2 separate regions of the Homo sapiens genome follow, and region 2 is linked to region 1. Evidence: promoter capture Hi-C in human tissues and cell types (Jung and others, 2019). All regions are on one chromosome and are shown on one strand. The core of a region is centred on a gene start or on the middle of the fragment in contact, and the rest is flanking DNA. Distances in the headings are between cores, read along the strand shown. Region 1 holds the start of C16orf87 (chromosome 16 open reading frame 87). Region 2 has its middle 20 kb from the start of MYLK3.

What was found. Contacts are between HindIII fragments. The study calls those that stand out against the background at their distance.
Region 2: a contact is called between a fragment that was not itself captured here and the fragment with the promoter of C16orf87 in region 1, in 1 of the 25 tissues and cell types used here (lymphoblastoid cells).

What each region holds. Positions count from the first base shown.
Region 1 is chr16:46,829,195-46,835,320 of GRCh38, forward strand. C16orf87 (chromosome 16 open reading frame 87) reads right to left here and starts at 1,986. Exons shown (of 4, transcript NM_001001436.4): 1 at 1,890-1,986. The coding sequence starts at 1,955. RefSeq lists a silencer at 1,683-2,332. The HindIII fragment of the contact is 8,650 bases long and covers 1-5,735 here.
Region 2 is chr16:46,765,648-46,771,364 of GRCh38, forward strand. No RefSeq gene overlaps it. Among named protein-coding and RNA genes, the nearest start is that of MYLK3, 20 kb to the left of the region's middle. RefSeq lists an enhancer at 3,223-3,758. The HindIII fragment of the contact is 8,068 bases long and covers 1-5,717 here.

The sequences.
Region 1 (6,126 bases), core at 736-3,235:
ACCAAGAAGACAGCCATCTGCAAGCCAAGAAGAGAGCCCTCACCAGAACATAATCATGCTTTTGTTATGGCAGCCAAAGCTGGGTAAGCTGATTTTATATGAAAGAATAAATATGGGGGAGGGGGTGTATAACAAAATGAATGTGATCTTTCCAAATAAAACGCTGATCTTGTTTTGTTGAACAGTTTTTCAGAAACTCCTATAAGTTTATTATCCTTTGCTCTTTTATATAAAAATAGCCATAAAAAGTGGCTATTTTTCCCAAAAGGTTGCTTTATGCCAATTAGAACAAAGTCAGGATTTGCAAATACTTGTGCCTTACAGAAATTGGAATGCATAACGCATACCATGTAAACCTTACACTTCTACACAATTAACTGGAATAATTGGAAATGATTTAAACACTGAAATAATCTCCCGCAAAGAGTCATATTGCAAAGTCCAGTTTTGTCAAAATTTAACAAATTTAGTTCAGTAGTAAGAATGAAAGTAACTCTTTGGAAAACATGACTAAACTGTTTTTATACTGCATACTGGTATAGCTCCTACACTGTATTTCTTGCACAACCTTTTTCTGATAAGCATTTTTACTACAGCCCATAAAGGATACTTAATAAAACATGTAACATGTTTTCTGTTAAAAGATTTGAAAAACCTACAAGAATTCTCCTTGAAAAATGCACTAAAATCAGCTTATTAAAAAGTCTCCAGCCATTTCAAATTACTCTTGATTTAAAAAAAAAAAAAGGCGGTGGGGGGAGGGGAGGAGAGAAAGGTAGTCATTTTGAAAAAATCCACTCAGTGGAAAAGGAAAAAACACACCCAGATCTACATGTTGGTAACAAACGAGGGCCTTACGAATGGTTTTAACTGAAGTAGTTTTAACTCATTAGATGTTAAGGCTTAAAGGAATGTCTATTATTCCAGTAAAGAATTGAGACACGCTTCAACACAGCGATCACTGAAATGAGATGTTTTAAATTACAACTATTACACCATGAACTCAATGTAGAAAGGAATCGTTTCAAATTCAAGAAACGAGATAGAGAGATAGAGAGATAGAGAGAGACAGACAGAGAGAGAGAGAGAGAGAGAGAGAGAGAGAGAGAGAGAGACACACAGAGACATTCAGACAGACAGGGATACAGATCTGGAAGCAGACAGGCCAAATTTGTAACAGTGGATACTGCGAGGGGTGGGGAAGTTAGGAGCGCCCAAAAAGGAGGAAGGGCTTAAACAGGGGCTTTATTCAATCATGACCCATTAAAAACGATGTAAAGGCAGGATTCGCGATTGCACAGCAAAAATATAATAAATAGATGAGGAAGGGGAAAAAATCTCCAAATTCGCCGAAACTCAAAATCATTACACGCGGCCCCCTTTGTCCCACTCAGGCGCCCGCCCCGGTCGCGGAGGGGCCGTTTTGGGGAAGCCCCGCACCCGTCGGAACCGGGAACAAAGCCGCCCCGGCCGCAGGAGGGGTTCTCGGAGCTAGGGCCTGGCCTCGGAGGCGGGCGTGCGGCACACTCTCGCCGGGGCTGCGGCCCGCAGGCTCCCACCGCTGTCACCGCCGCCGGCGAGGAGAGTCTGGGGCTCCAGACAGCCGCCCGGTGAGCCCACCAAAGGCGCGCTCCTCCAGTGGCCGGGACACAGCAAGAAGGGGCTTGGCCGTCTGGCCGCCGCCAGGTGGACGCTGGCGGGCCACGGCCCCGGGCTTTTCCCGGGAAACCCCTCGGTGCAGCCCGACCGGCCCCGGATCCCCGCCGCCGCCGGCGGGCCCCAGGATCTGCCCACCGCTCGGCCTCCGGGAGCCCGGCGAGGCCCCCCTCCACAGACAACGGCCGCCAAGCCACTGCCGCCCGCCCGCGCGCCCGGCCCCCGGCACCCACCTGTTGGTCGCACTCGGGGCATGATTTGGTGGCCATCTTCACTTTCTTGGCTCGAGTTGCAGACATGCTCCTCTCCCTTAGCGGCGGCAGCAGCGACGGCTCGGGCTCCTCCCCTCACACTTCGGCAGCCCGGCCTCCGCCCGCCCAGTCCCCGCGGGCCTCAAACAAGCCTCTGGCGGGTGCGCGCGCGCGCGTGCGCGAGCTCGCGCGGGACCTGGGCGCCAAGGGGGCGGGGCGGAGCGTCGGCCGGCGGCTCCTGGGGACCGCGACACGCGCTCCCACGGCGGCTCGCGACCCACAGCCCGCCCGCGAGCTCGCCCAGAGTATCACGAGACGAGGGGAGACCTCCCCCCCCTCCGCCAGACCGCCCCGGCGCGGCAGTGGCCACGCCTCCTCTCGGCCTGGCCGACTACGAGGGGGCAAGGCCTGGGCGGGACTCGGCAGTAACGGGCGTCGAGTTCGACCAACGAATGCATAGGTAGGGCGGGCCGTAGTGCTGGGCACGCCCCATCCCCACAGAGACCGTGGGAGCGAAGGCTGGGGAATGAATGGTGAAGGGCGTAGCGTGGATCCTGGCATTTAATAAACTTAAGTAGATGTTACCAAGGCTAATCATTGAGAAATTATGATAGACATTTTATGAGACCACTGGACCCAGCAGCAGAGTGAAAATTCATTTATTTATTCAATATATAATTGCCTAAGTCCCACTGTCAGGAAAATTTGAATAAAATGCAGTGTCAGCCTTCAAGGAGCAGCCTAGCTGTGTAAACCAGTGCTACTCACTATCAAGATGAGGGATCAGATGTTTTTCTTTTTCCAATCTGTCCGTGACTGATACTTACTAAATTAACATTAAAATTAAATTATTCGAGGCTGGGCGCAATGGCTCACGCCTGTAATCCCAGCACTTTGGGAAGCCGAGGAGGGCGGATCTCTTGAGCCCAGGAGTTCCAGACCACCCTGGGCAACATAGCGAGACCCCCATCTCTACAAAAAGTAAAAGATTTTTAAAAATTAGCTGAGCGTGGTGGCCCATGCCTGGAGTCCTAGCTAGTAGAGAGGCTGAGGTGGGAGGATCGCTTGAGCCTATGAGATTGAGGCTTCAGTGAGCCGAGATTGTGGCCACTGCACTCCAGCCTGGGCGACAGAGCGAGACTCCGTCTCAAAAAAAAGAAAAAGAAAGAAAAAGTGAAATTTAAAAACAACTATGCAAAACGTAAGCTTACTTTTAAATATTTAATTTGACAGACCCAAAGTTATACTTAATAAACAATCAGAACAAACATAACAGAAAGAAAATTTACAAACTGTACACTTGGCTCAGAGAAAATTTACCAATATGCATTTATTACAGAGACTGGCTATTCCACTGATAACTTTTTATTCAACAATTGTTAACTAAAGCAAAGTTATGAGTTACAATTTTACATAGTAAATGCCTGTAAGCACACTTTGTATAAATAACAGTTATATAAATGTTTAAAGCTTTTAATATGAAACCCACGAAATTGCTTCCTGTTTGGTCCATTTACAGGCATACCTTGGAGGGACTGGGGGTTCAGTTCCAGGCCATTGCAAAAAAGAGAGCCACACTCAATTTTTTGTTGTTGTTTCCCAGTGTATATAATAAACATGTTTCCACTATACTGTAATATATTAAAAGTACAATAGCATTATGTCTAAAAAACAGTGTACACACGTTGATGTTAAAATTGGGCTAAAAATCCTGGGCAAAATGGTGAAACCCGTCTCCACAAAAAATTAAAAAATAGCCATGTGGTGACAGCGTATGCCTGTAGTCCCAGCTACTCAAGAGGTTGAGTTGGAGGATCCACTGAGCCCAGGAGGTCAAGGCTGCAGTGAACCATGATTGCGCCATTGCACTTCAGCCTGGGTGACAGAGAAAATCCCTGTCTCAAAAAAAAAAAAAAAAAAAAAAAGGAGTTAATCTTCACAAACCCTGCCACTGCTTTATCAACTAATATTTATGTAATATTCTAAATCCTTTGTTGCCATTCCACTATGTTCACAGAATCTTCCCCAGGAGATTCCATCTCAAAAAACCACTTTCTTTGCTCCTTCGTAAGAAGTAACTCCTCATCTGTTCAAGTTTTATCATGAGATTGCAACATTAATCCCAGCACTTTGGGAGGCTGAGACAGGAGGATTGCTTGAGCTCAAGAGTTCAAGACCAACCTGGGCAACATAGTGAAACCTCATCTTCACAAAAAAATACAAATCTTAGCTGGGCATGATGTGCACCTGTAGTTCCAGCTACTTGGGAGGCTGAGGTGGGAGGAATGCTTGAGCCCAGCAGGTCGAGGCTGTAGTGAACCACAATCGTGCCACTGCACTCCAGCCTGGACAACAGAGTGAGACCCTGCTGTGTGTCCCGCATTTGCAATTACATCCTCCACTGAAGTCTTGAACCCCTCAAAGTCATCCATGAGGATTGTAATCAACTCCTCCCAAGCTCCTGTTAATGTTTATATTTTGACTTGCTTCCATGAGTCATGAATGTTCTTAGTACTATCTAAAATGGTAAATCATTTCCAGAAGGTTTTCAATTGACTTTGCCCAGATCCATCAGAGGAATTGCTATCTATGGCAGCAATAGCCTTACAAAATGTATTTCTGAAATAATAAGACTTGAAAGTCGAAATTACTCCTTAATCCATAGGTTACAGAATGGATTAGCAGGCATGAAAATAACATTAATTTCTTAAACCTCCATCAGAGCCCTTAGGTAACCAGGTGCATTGTCAATGAGTAATAATATTTTGAAAAGAATCTTTTTTTCCAAGCAGTAGGTCTCAACAGGGGGCTTGAAATATTTAGTAGACCATGACAGATTTGCTGTCATCCAGACTTTGTTATTCCATTTATAGAGTATAGGGAGAGTAGGTTTAATATGTTCCTTAAGGGCCCTAGGATTTGGGGAATGGTATATGAGCACTGACTTCAACTTAAAGTCATCAGCTGCACTTGCCCCCTAACAAGACAGTGAGCCTCTCCATTGAAGGTTTGAAGCCAGGCCTTGATTGCCTTCTTCTCTCTAGCTATGAAAGTCTTAGGTAGCATATTCTTCCAGTAAAAGGCTGTTTTGCCTACAATGAAAATTTGTTCTTCAATGTAGAATTAGCTAGATCTTTTGGATAACTTGCTGCAGCTTCTACATCAGCACTTGCTTCCCACCTTGTACTTTTACATTATGGAAATGGCTTCTTTCTTTTTTTTCTTTTTCTTTTTTTTCTTTATGACGGAGTCTCGCTCTTTCACCCAGGCTGGAGTGAAGTGGCATGATCTCAGCTCACTGCAACCTCCACCCACCTCCCGGACGAGTTCAAGCAATTCTCCTGCCTCAGCCTCCCCAGTAGCTGGGATTACAGGCACCCACCACCATGCCTGGCTAATTTTTGTGTTTTTAGTAGAGATGGGGTTTCACCATATTGGCCAGGCTGGTCTCAAACTCCTGACCTCAGGTGATCTGCCCTCCTTGGCCTCCCAAAGTGCTAGGATTACAGGTGTGAGCCACTGCACCTGGCCGAGTTGCCTTCTTTCTTTAAACCTCAAGAACCAACCTCTGCTAGCTTCAAACTTTTCTCCTGTAGTCTTCTGTAGAATTGAAGAGAGTTAGGGACTTGATCTGGATTAGGCTTTGACTTAAGGGATTGTTGTGGCTATTATGATCTTTTATCCAGACTACTAAAACTTTCTTCATATCAGTAGTACTGCTGTTTTTCATTCTCATCATTTGCATGTTCACTGGAGTGGCACATTTAATTTCCTTCAAGACTTTTTCTTTGCATTCATAACTTGGTTAACTATTTAGCCCATAGTGTAATAGTTAAAATTTAAACTATCTTCAGTGGAAAAATGGATTTCAGATCTCTGATTTTTCTATGCAGGAATTTTCTTTTCAGGGAAAATAAACTTCCAACTGTTCTATCACATTTGTAAAATGTTTAATTATACCATTCACAGAGGTGCAATGTCAGGTTCATTGCCTTTTTAATAATTACTGTGAAAACATGGAACATATTATAATAATATGTAAAATCTCTGTTCTTTCAAGTTTCTAACTTAAATTTGCATCCCTCAATCATAATTACCAGGGAAAAATATGCTGCCTTCCTTACTTGCACTAAAATTTTAAGATCCAAAAATCCTGCACAGAATACTAGCAAACCATCTTCAGCACAGTTTAAAGGGATTATACATCATGATCAAGGAG
Region 2 (5,717 bases), core at 728-3,227, 64 kb before region 1:
AGGCCAGGAGTTCAGAGCCAGTCTGGGCACCACAGGGAGACCCTGTCTCTACACAAAATTTTAAAATTAGCTGGGTATAGTGGTGCATGCCCGGAGCTAGTTACTCTGGAGGCTGAAGCAGGAGGATCACTTGGGCCCACGAGTTTGAGGATGCCATGAGCTATGATTGCACCACTGCACTCCAACCTGGGCAACAGAGTGAGACTCTGTTGAAAGAATGAAAGAACCAAAGAATGAAAGGAAGGAAGGAGAGAGAGAGAGAGAGAGAGAGGGAGGGAGGGAGGGAGGGAGAGAGGGAGGGAGGGAGGGAGGGAGGGAGGGAGAGAGGGAGTGAGGGAGGGAGGGAGGGAGAGAGAGAGAGAGAGAGAAAGAAAGAGAAGGAAAGAGAAAGAAAGAAAGAAAGAAAGAAAGAAAGAAAGAAAGAAAGAAAGAAAGAAAGAAAGAAAGGAAAAAAGAAAGAAAGAAGGAAGGAAGGAAGGAAAGAAAGAAAGAAAGAAAGAAGAAAGAAAGGAAGGAAGGAAGGAAGGAAGAAAGAAAGAGAGAGAGAGTTGGTTAGTGGTGAACGTGTAGCACAGAGGCTAAAAGTCCAGGCTTTGGCACCAGGCAGACTGGGTCTGAAGCCCAGCTCTCTCAGGAATCTGAAGCACTGTGTGACTTAAGCAAGTGACCCAACTGCTCTGGGCCTCAGTTTCCCCATCAAGGCCTACTGCATGGGAATATTTTGAGGATTAAGTGAGAAAATGAATGTGAAACTCATACAACAGTGCCTGCACATAGTCAGGTGCCCCCTTAGTGGTAGCTGCTCTTGTTAAGAGCAGGATATAAGCTGGAGTTCTGACCCAGCCTTGCAAAGGGACACCTGGTGAGTACCAAGTTTCTGCAGATTAAAAAAATGTGAAAATGGGAAGTAAAGTCATTCTGCCACACAGCCAGTGAAATTCAATGCTAATCTCAGCATAGCAGAACTCTGAAAATCTTTTGGTGTGGAATGGTAGAAAAGACCTGCCAGAACTGGCCATGTAAAGGATTTGTGCTCTTTCAAAAGTGAAGACCTCGGCCAGGCGCAGTGGCTCATGCCTGTAATACCAAGCACTTTGGAAGGCTGAGGCAGGAGGATTACTTCAGCCCAGGATTTCAAGACCAGTCTGGGAGACATGGTGAGACCCCATTGCTACAAAAAATAAAAAAAAAGTTAGGCAGGCATGGTGGCATGTCCCGTGCCTATGGTCCCAACTACTCAGGAGGCTGAGGTGACAGGATCACTTGAGCCCAGGAGGTCGAGGCTGCAATGACTTGTGATCACACCACTACACTCCAGCCTGGGCAACAGAGCAAGACCCTGCCTCAAAAAAATAAATAAAAAGAGAGAGGAGACTTCTCCCTTTCTCCAGGGAAGGTGTGGATCTAGATCCTGAAAATGTGTGGTTTTGTCTATAGATGTTCTCTTCAGTTTGTTTTTTTGTTTCTGTTTTTGTTGTTTTCTGTTGTTGGTGTTGGTGGTTTTTTTGAGACAGGGTCTCACTCTGTTACCCAGGCTGGAGTGCAGTGGCACAACCACAGCTTACTGCAGCCTCAACTGCCCAAGCTCAAGGAATCCTCCCACCTTAGCCTCCTGAGTAGCTAGAACTACAAGTGTGCGCCACCATGCCCAGCTAATATTTTTATTTTTAAAATTTTTGTAGAGATGGGATCTCGCTTTGTTACCAGGGCTGGACTCAAACTCCTGGGCTCAAGGAATCCTCCCACCTCAGCCTCCCAAAATGCTGGCATTACAGGAATGAGCCATCGTGCCAGGCCCATGTTCTCATTGCTTTAAATGGGATTTGACTGGAAATTTACATTGTGATAGTCCCTTTGAGGTTAAACTGATTCCAGTTTCAAGACCTATAACAAAAAGAACAACTGATAAATCAAGAACTTAAGAGTGTGGAGAATAAGAAAAATAGGCATAAAATAGTAGGAAACAAACAGTAGGGGAGAAACAAGGACATTTTAAACTTGGGCACTTGTTATAAATATATTTGACAGAAGAAAAGCAAACTGGCTTGTCTCCTTAACTCGGAGCAAAATAAATTTGATTTGATTCTGCTTCATTCACGAACTGGGATAGAATAACACGCTTTATTAAAGAAGTTTTAGTATTTTATTTGGCTGATGTTGAAACTGCACTTCTAAGTTTTACCATATTTATGTATGATCTGCTCGACTTGTTGTATTTCATCCAATTAGGTTTTTCCATTCAACACACCGGGCTTCTTTACAGATATGACCAGGATTTCTTAATTTCAGTGAGAAACATGCTAAGAGTCAATGAAACAAGAAAGCAACAGATTCTGCCTTTTTAGAAAAACTGTAAACTACTTAAATGTCAACCAGTAGGGGAAAGAATGATAGCTCTACATGTACCGACATGGAAAGCCACCCAAGGCATATGACCGAGTTAAAAAAAAATCACAAAATAACATATACAATTTAATCCTGTCTAAATTGAGAAGAGACTGATAATCAGACAGATGAACATGGATACGTAAATCCATTAATAATGGTTGGCAAAGATATACACCCAATTATTAACAGCAGCCACTTCCTGGGAAAAGAGCAGAACTGGGGTGGGGAAATAAAGGGAAAAGCCATCTTGTATCTGCATTTTTACAAGAAACATGTGTTTTTTAGTTTTTTTTTTCTTCCCTTCTTTTTTTTTAAGACAGTGTCTCACTCTGTTGCCAGACTGGAGTGCAGTGGCGCGATCTCACCTCACTGCAACCTCCACCTCCCAGGTTCAAGCGATTCTCCTGCCTCAGCCTCCCAAATAGCTGGGACCACAGGCGCGCGCCACCATGCCCAGTAAATTTTTGTATTTTTAGTAGAGATGGGGTTTCACCATGCTGGCCAGGATGGTCTCGATCTCTTGACCTCGTGATCCCCCTGCCTCAGCCTCCCAAAGTGGGATTACAGGCGTGAGCCACTGTGCTCGGCCTAAGAAGCATGTTTTTGTATATTACATATATATCTTTTAAAGCAATACATTATTTACTTCAATGGAAATAATATGTTAATTTACAGTTCTTTTACTAGAGATACTACCCATGGGATAACAAATACTAAACGTGCATGTGGGATTTTTTTTTCATTTTTCATTAATAAACCAGACAGGATGTCTCTGCCTTGACTCTTCAGATTGATGGACAAGAAGTCCAATAAGGAATAAGCTCATACCCTGAGGACAGGGTAAGTGGGTACCACACAGGGATGAGAGTCCCTACACCCTGGAAGCTGAGGTCAGTTGGGAGAGGGTTAACAGACAAACAGCAGGCGGCAGGGAAGTGCTGCCAGGAGGCCTGTGAGCCGGGAAAGCTCTAGGGTGGATCAACTGTACCCACCTGCTTCTCTCTCTCCTCCCCCACCTTCCCCCATCCCCAGGCCCTCAGTCCAAGCAGCTGGCATCTACCCTCAGGCAAAAGTAAACAAACAAGTCCTTGACAGCTCTTTAAAGCAATTAAGTATTGGTCGGGCGGTGGCTAACGCCTGTAATCCCAGCACTTTGGGAGGCCGAGACGGGCGGATCACGAGGTCAAGAGATGGAGACCATCCTGGCTAACATGGTGAAACCATGTTACTCTACTAAAAATACAAAAAAAAATTACCTGGGCGTGGTGTCGGGCGCCTGTAGTCCCAGCTACTTGGGAGGCTGAGGCAGAAGAATGGCGTGAACCTGGAGGTGGAGCTTGCAGTGAGCCGAGATCTCGCCACTGCACTCCAGCCTGGGCGACAGAGCAAGACTCGGTCTCAAAAAAAAAAAAAAAGGGAAAGAAAAAGAAAAAAGAAATTAAGCAATCCATATTGGAGAATCAAAGGCTTTTATTCATCACCTTGGTACACTAAAGTCCTCATTCTGGGCAATCAAGTGACCTCATCCTCCTCGACCCCATACCCAGAGCACCCAGTCAGAATTCTCACTGGGGAGAAGCCACCGAGTCACATAGACCTTCTTTTTAAGATATGACCAGACAACCAAAGATCACCAAGACATTCCCAGAACCAGCAGCCTGAAAAAGAAAGAGCAAGATATATAGGTGAAAAATGAACTCTGGTGGAAAGATCGTCAGGGAATAGAAGAAAACTTGGCTCAAAGAGGTTTTTTGTTTTTTGTTTGTTTGTTTCGAGACAAGGTCTCGCTCTCTCACCCAGACTGGAGTGCAGTGGTGCAGTCATAGTTCACTGCAGCTGCAATCTCCCGGGCTCAAGCAAGCTTTGCAAAGTGCTAGGACTACAGACATGAGCCACTGTGCCCAGCCGACTAGAAGAGGTTTAAGAAAAAGTTTATAAAACCAGAACAGGTTGATCTGAAAAAAGAATAATCAGAAAACAAGGGGAAGCAATTAGATAGATTAAAAATATGATAGCTGGCCGGGCACAGTGACTCACACCTGTAATCCTAGCACTTTGGGAGGCCTAGGCAGGTGGATCACCTGAGGTCAGGAATTCGATACCAGCCTGACCAATATGGTGAAACCCTGTTTCTACAAAAAAAAAAAAAAAAAAAAATTAGCTGGGCGTGGTGGCGGGCACCTGTAATCCCAGCTACCTGGGAGGCTGAGATAGGAGAATTTCTTGAACCAAGGAGGCAGAGGTTGCAGTGAGCCAAGATCACACCTCTGCACTCTGGCCTGGGGGACAGAGCGAGACTCCATCTTAGAAAAAAAAAAATGATAGCTGAAATAAGATGTTCAAGGAATCATAAAAGAGGAAATTTCCCAGAACCTAGGGGAAAAAATAAACTGTGAAAGAACAGATGAGAAACAAAAGGACAATTCAAAACTCCACAATTCACTAATGGAGTCCCAGGAAAAGAGAATAAAGACTGGGGTGAACTGCAGTCTGCCATTCACTGCAATCAAAGACTGCGCTCCAGCCATTTCCCCACCTTTGCATCTTTCACTCCCAGGGCATCTGATGGGAACCTGTTTGGCGGCCACTGTGGAGCTTAGCTCCTGGATTTACTGTCCCACAAAGACTGCGGGATGGTATTTTGAGGAAGGGGCATTGACAGAGGGTGGTCAAAAAAATGAGAAATGTGCACGACTTTTTTAATGTGGCCTGCTTGCACCAAGGAAGCCAGGGCCATAGCCTGTGTGTGGACGCTTGCTGTCTAGGGATAACTCATTTGAGTCATTAAAAGAAATGCTAAAATCAGAGCAGAGTGAGCAGAGCCCTTCAGCTCATCACTGACGACTTGTCTCCAGGGTGACATCAGTTCACCCTCTTTGGGTGTGGTTGTTCAATTGCTTACAATCGCACACAAGTCCCCAGCTCATGTTTCTCCATGTTTGGACAAGAACATCACAACTTTTGCAATCCCTTGGTCTACAGCATAGAGCAGGCATTGTCTTGCATGAGTGCCTGGCTAAACCCAGTCTACATTGATGGTAGATTTCTATCAATTTGAAACAACTGGATTTTCCATCCTAGGAAGTTAAAAATTGGTCTGGTAAGACACAGATTCTAGAGACAGTCTTTAGGTTTCAGCCTAGAGAGGCCATCAACGCCCATAAATCAGAAAGGACAGGGTGAAAAAAAAAAAACACAAATGAGGATGTACAAGACAAAAGGCTCAGATAACAAAGAAAGTATCTTTGTCAACAATGGGGGTTGTGGGGTAAGAGTAGGGCTGTGATGTAGATAGAAGTAGATTAACTAAGCAGGGATGGTGGATTACT